Regions from separate parts of the Homo sapiens genome. Here region 2 is linked to region 1. The links are contacts of gene promoters, found by promoter capture Hi-C in human tissues and cell types (Jung and others, 2019). All regions are on one chromosome and are shown on one strand. Each heading gives the region's core, a stretch centred on a gene start or on the middle of the fragment in contact. The rest is flanking DNA. Distances are from core to core; before and after follow the strand shown.

What was found. Contacts are between HindIII fragments. The study calls those that stand out against the background at their distance.
Region 2: a fragment that was not itself captured here is called in contact with the fragment with the promoter of TMEM167B in region 1 in 1 of the 25 tissues and cell types used here (psoas muscle).

What each region holds. Positions count from the first base shown.
Region 1 is chr1:109,089,022-109,092,312 of GRCh38, forward strand. TMEM167B (transmembrane protein 167B) reads left to right here and starts at 1,743. Exons shown (of 3, transcript NM_020141.4): 1 at 1,743-1,861. The coding sequence starts at 1,852. RefSeq lists an enhancer at 1,377-1,576. The HindIII fragment of the contact is 5,904 bases long and covers 1-2,705 here.
Region 2 is chr1:109,570,247-109,573,393 of GRCh38, forward strand. All of the region lies in intron 1 of GNAI3 (G protein subunit alpha i3), which reads left to right. Among named protein-coding and RNA genes, the nearest start is that of GNAI3, 23 kb to the left of the region's middle. The HindIII fragment of the contact is 7,050 bases long and covers 1-3,147 here.

The sequences.
Region 1 (3,291 bases), core at 493-2,992:
GGGATTACAGGCGTGAGCCGCGCCCGGCCAGCTGCTGCTGTTTTAGACAATGGTTGATGAAGGATTCGAAGGCCTAAACAATAGAGCTTTTGTTCTGTTTTGTTTTTGAGTGGTCCTGAACAGTTCTTTTGGGCAGGGGAATTTGTCTGTGTGTGAATGTGCAAACATATATATAATCTGAGTGGCTGCCTGGCCTTGTCCTAGGTTTTGTCCCGTATATACGCCGTCTTTTTTTTTTTTTCTTTCTGCATGTATGTATATTTTCTCAAGGCATCTGTCCTGCACTAGACTTTGGCTTGTCTTTCCAGGCCAGCTTCCAGAGGATGCTTTGGCAGTTTTCCCTCTGGGTAACCAAGCAGGCTGCAGCCAGCAGATGGCACTGCAGCAGAAAGGGGCAGAGTCCCTTTAGGCCCTTGACAAGCACGGCGGATTAGTAACCGTATAATTTAACCCTCCAGTTAGCCTTGGAGGACTCGGTGTCGCACTTCCGCCCGAACTCTAATAAAGCGGGCCGAGTTGTGTGCAATTAAGGATTTCAGTATGCAAATCTGAATCTGTACTTTTGTCTCCTCCACCCCACCCCCATCATTAGACTGGCAATGTCTTTTGTCACGTTGTCAAAGTGTCCTCAGAGAAGCGGTGTCTAGATATCGCCGATTTCTGGTTAAAGTGGCTGAAGTGATCCCAGCATTAATTAAATGCAGGAGAATCGAGATTCTCCTGATAGTTTAAGGAAAAGAAAAATTCACACAAGCAAACGGGCAACCCTTTGAATGTTTTCCGACGACGTGGTGCTTTAGGATCTGAAAGATGCGACTTGGTTTTTGTTGTTGTTGTTGTTGTTGTTGTTGTTTTTGAGACGGAGTTTCCGCTCTTGTTGCCCAGGCTGGAGTGCAATGGCGCGATCTCGGCTCACCGCAACCTCCGCCTCCCAGGTTCAAGCGATTCTCCTGCCTCGGCCTCCCGAGTAGCTGGGATTACATTACAGGCATGAGCCACCATGCCCGGCTAATTTTGTATTTGTAGTAGAGACGGGGTTTCTCCATGTTGGTCAGGCTGGTCTCGAACTACGATCTCAGGTGATCCGCCTGCCTCGGCCTCCTAAAGTGCTTAGATTACAGGCATGAGCCACCGCGCCCGGCTAATTTTGTATGTTTAGTAGAGACGGGGTTTCTCCTTGTTGGTCAGGCTGGTCTCGAACTCCGACCTCAGGTGATCCGCCTGGCTCGGCCTCCCAAAGTGCTGGGATTACAGGCGTGAACCACCGCGCCCGGCCGCGACTTGTTTTTGTTACAAGGTTCCTCATTTCATTTGCAACGTTCAGACGCAGTCTGACTAGATTTCCATCCGGAGTAAGGAAGAGCAGCTCAAGGGCAGTCACGGAGGCCGCAGGTGCGGCTTCTTCACCCGCGGTGCTGGAGTTCTCTCAAGTGGAAGCCCAGGACGATGAAAACCTCATAGGTAGGCTGCTGCTTACACACAGCAGCCGCCACGGCGCAAAATAAACTACAAAACTACAAGCCTTTACCTTTTCAAACACACTGACGCGGGCCAGCCCCAGCCCTACGCCCGCAGGGGCACGCAGAAAAGACTTAGTTACCACGGCCAAGTACGAAGCCTTCGAGATAGCGTTCTTCTTACCCTACGTAAACACGCAGTTTCCCGAGCTCGACAATCGGCTAGCCACTCCTGATAGCGTTCGGCGCTCGCCTCTCGGCCCTTGCTCCTGCGTACTACGGCTTCTTCCAGTCACCTCGGCCCGGATCGGGAAGTGTCAAGCGGGCGCTCCCCCATCTCCGCCGCTATTACCACTGAACCCGGACCCCCTACCCAGGTCCAGGGCCAGCCGCCATGACGAACGGTGAGAACTGATGCCCTGAGCGGAGGGTGGGAGTGAAGGACGAAGGGAAAACGTGGCGGGCGGGGCCGGGACTGACGTGGCCGTTCTCCCCGCCCCCTCCCAGCCCGGCCCCCCTTGGCCTCTCGACGCCCCTAACTTCTGTACCCCTATACTCCTCTACGGGTTCCCCCTTCCCATATTCATCTAGGACCCCCAGTGCCTCTTATGCTCACACCTCGAGTTATCTATCCCTATGCTTTGCTTTCCCTTTTCTTTTTCTTAGTTCTTTCTGGCCCTTGGAGAGGTCAGTCCCAGAGGTACTACTGCTATTTAAACCCGGGGAAGAGAGAGGCTCCTCCTCCCAGCTCCCTGCGTTCTCATGCTTTCGGACCGTAGTTTTGTTGAGAGGGCCAATAAATGACATAGAATATCAAGTCCCACACTTTTGGGGTTGCTGGTGAATGTAGACCCCACAAAAGCTTCTTCTTACGGAAAAATACCGGAAAGATTTCTGATTTTAAAGTCCTGGCGGGGTGATCCCACGTGGAGACCCTGACTAGTGTTGCAAAGGGTGGATTTAGACACTGCCTCTTCTAGATGATGAGGCAGTTTATCTGACCTAATTTTCCAGGCCTCTTCAAACACTTTATGAATTCTGAATTCCAGAGGAGGACAGGAAGGAGGGCCTTCATGATTTTTAGTGTCAACCTTACAGGAAAGGAGAAGAGAAAGCCTTTTAGGCATTACGATGATTTGAGGGGCTCCGGAAAGCATTTCTCAAAAGTACTTTGTCCATAGACCTGGCACTGAAGACTCGAATTTAACCTCCTTGTGAATTTTGGCATTGTCTGCAGAAACTTATGAGAGAAAAGGGGTAGCACGTGAAGGTATAGTTCCTCAGAAAACCTTAGTGTATGTATTAATTTGCTGGACCCTTTCTTAGTGACAGCTTAGCTGTGAGACAGTTTTACTGGAGGAAGAGAGGTAGTGTGATCTAGAACTGGCAGACACTGGTTATATATAATATTCATTTGGAGCTTCCTGGGAAGTCAGAGGTCTCAGGATACTAGGCACAGTAAGAAAAGGGAATTTACCCAGAGGAAGACAGAATCTGAACCAGGAAGTAAGACAGCAGTTTGACACGGTAGTTGCTGAATAAATTTTAGTCATTCTTCCCCCATTTTGTGGTCCAATATCTTCTTGTTTTTTGCAATTAGGTGATTCATTGTGCTTCCCTGTACAAGAAATAAGCTTGGTTTATGTATTTAAGAAACAGAGCTAAGAAGTTAAAGCTTTCTATGTTGAAGCCTTAGATACTTTTTCTTTGTTTTAGAAAAATCTGTTATTATTCTGGCAGAAATTCGGTTTGTTAAGAGTATCATCCATAAAGTGTAAGATAATGATAGGAAAATTGTAGTCATGTGGATTCTTACTCTTGCAACTTTCATTAA
Region 2 (3,147 bases), core at 155-2,654, 480 kb after region 1:
TGTAAGAATGTAGTTGTCTAGAATTTTTATATTTGGATTTTAATTAACTTTTGGTTAGTAAAGTTGAGAAATATTTAGTAAAGAATCATGGTTACTAAATATTATTCATTGTTTAGTAATATTTATTTGAGTAGATAATTTATGTCATGACCAGTTTAAGGCCCTGGGAATGCAGGGATGAATAAGCCTTCATGGAGCTTATATTTTAGTGGGGAAGATAAGAAATGAGCTAATCTGTCATGTGAAGAAGTGGTAAGTGCTATGAAAAAATATAACACAGAATAAGGGGAGAGACTGTGACGGGGTGGGAGCTATTTAGATAGATTAGTCAGAAAAGGCTGTTCCTGTGAGGAAGAAAATCTTGCAAAACTTATTTCAGGTAACAGTAAACGCAAAGACAGGAAAGACAGAGTCAGGACCTAACTCAGTAAGAACCGGTTTGGTATGTTGGAGGAAAAGCAAGAATGCTGGTCTGACAAGAGCTGTGAGGACAAAGTGGAGAGTAACAAGAGATGAGGGTGAAGAGGTAGGCAGGGGCCAGAGCATATTGCACCATAATGCCCATGGATTTTGAGTATAATTGAAGATCGTGTGACAAGATCTAATTTACATTTTACAAAGTTTATTCCACCTACTGACTGGCAAACTGGCTTTAGAAAAGGCAAGGTCTGAAGCACTGAACTATTTAGGAAGCTTTTGCAGTGATCTAGGCCTATGGTTTCCAATGTTCAGGAACAAACTGTTAAAACTATTATATTAACTATTTATATTGCTTTATTTAAAAAAATTAAGCTTTACTAATATTTAATATACAGATTGGCACTGGCATCCTTGTCTTATCTGCACGTTAGTCACATGTCATTTAACATTTTTGGCTTGAGCAACTGGTGAATGTTGGTGCCATTTACTGGAATGAGAAGACTGAGGGAGGAGCAGGGTTTGTTTTGAGGTGAGAGTGAGTTGGGGAATCAGTATCTCAGTTTTGAGCATTTTAGGTTTGTGAAATCTAAATACCTACTAGAAATCTAATATCAGGTAGATGGTTTAGATATATGAATCTGGAGCCAAGGTTAGAAGCCAAGATTAGAGATCTAAATTTGGAAATCATTAGTATAGAGACAGTATACACCAGCTTTGGAGCCAAACTGTGAATGCAAATTTCAGTTCTGCCACTTACTAACTGTGTAATTATAGGCAAGTTACTTGACATCTGTCTGCATCATTTATCTCATCTGTAAAATGGGGGTAATAATGTCTACCTCATAGGGTTATTGTGAGGATTAAATTAGTTATTACAAACAAAGTGATTAGAACAGTGTGGCCGAGGGTACTCACTAGATGTTAACTGTTAGGATCAGTTTTTGAATAGTGTTTAAGCCATGAGATTAGGGCCGGGTGCGATTGCTCACTTCTGTAATCCCAGCATTTTGGGAGGCCGAGGCAGGTGGATCGCTTGAGCCCAGGAGTTCGAGAGCAGCCTGGCAAACATGGTGAAACCCCGTCTCTACTAAAAATACAAAAATTAGCCAGGTGTGGTGGCGTGTGCCTGTAGTCCCAGCTACTCAGGAGGCTGAGGCAGGAGAATCACTTGAACCTGGGAGGCAGATGTTGCAGTGAGCCAAGATTGCGCCACTGCACTCCAGCCTGGGTGACAGAGCAAGAGTCTGTCTCCAAAAAATAAAGACCATGAGATTAGATAACTTAGAGAATGAGTTTAGATAGGGAAAAGGGCCAAGGAGGGACCCCTGAAGCAATATAACCTTTAGAATTCAGAAACTGGGTTGGGTGCGGTGGCTTTCGCCTGTAATACTAGCACTTTAGGAGGCTGAGGCGGGCAGATCACCTGAGGTCAGGAGTTTGTGACCAGCCTGGCTAATATGGTGAAAAACCCTGTCTCTACTAAAAATACAAAAATCAGCTGGGTGTTGTGGCAGGCGCCTGTAATCTCAGCTACTCAGGAGGCTGAGGCAGGAGAATTGCTTGAACCTGGGAGGCGGAGGTTGCGGTGAGCCGAGATTGTACCATTGCACTCCAGCCTGGGCTACAGAGCGGGACTCCATCTCAAATAATAATAATAATAATAATTCAGAAACTGGAGAGAGGAGATTGAGGAGTGAAGTAGGAATCAAACCTGAAGGGTATGTTGGCTAGAAGCCTGCCTAGTGAAGAAAATATTTCAACTTAGACAAATTCTGCTTGAGAGGCTAAGATGAGCACCAAGAATTGACCAACTGGGTTTGTCAAGATGGAAGTTTTTGGAGACCTTGAGAAGTAGTTTTATTAGAGTGGTGGGGATGAAAGCCTGATTAGCATAGCTGAAGGACAGAATTGGATGTACGAAATTGGAGGCACTGAGTATAGATGGCACATTAGAGGAGTTTTGCTGCAAAGAGGGATAGAGAAAATGGTGTGGTAGCTAGAAGAAAATGTGTGGGGTCAAGGAAAGTTAGGGGTGTGTATGTGTGTTGATTTAAAGATGGAAAATAGTATAGTAAGTTTGCATGCTGATGAGAATGACCCAGTGGAAAGAAAAAACTGATCATATTTGAGATGTGGAAAATATCATGGGAAATTGCAGCAGCCATGACCTTGAGTAGGTAAAATGAAGGTGCATAAGGGGAGAAGTTGATTTTAAAACATTGGCAGAGACTTTTCATCCATTGATGAAGGTAGAGAATATTAATGGAGGTACAGATAGACTGGTAGATGTCGTTGTGGGAAAATGTAGTTTTTTCTGATTGCTTTAATTTTTATGGAAAAGTAGGGTAGGATCATCAGTTGAGAGTCAGAATTGGGAGGGGGTTTATAAAATTTGAGAGAGAGGAGGTGGTGTGATATAGGCATCTTGGAAGATAGGAAAATGAGTTGACTAGGGAAGATCTAGCAGGTGGATTTGTCAAGGAGGTCAGAAGGCTAGCTTGACATTTGTGGTCATTTGTTTAAAGTGATTCCAGCTGGCTAAGGAGGGCAGGGTGGTCTTGAGATGACATATGGTGAGAAATTGATAGGAACAATGCCTTTTCTGCTTCTATTTGAAACATCTTTAGTCCTGTGACTGGTAGTATTGCTCTCAGAACATTTCTGTGGTATAGGCAGGCAGCAACAGAGGAATTAATAAAAATGAATAGACCAAAAAATAATGATTTC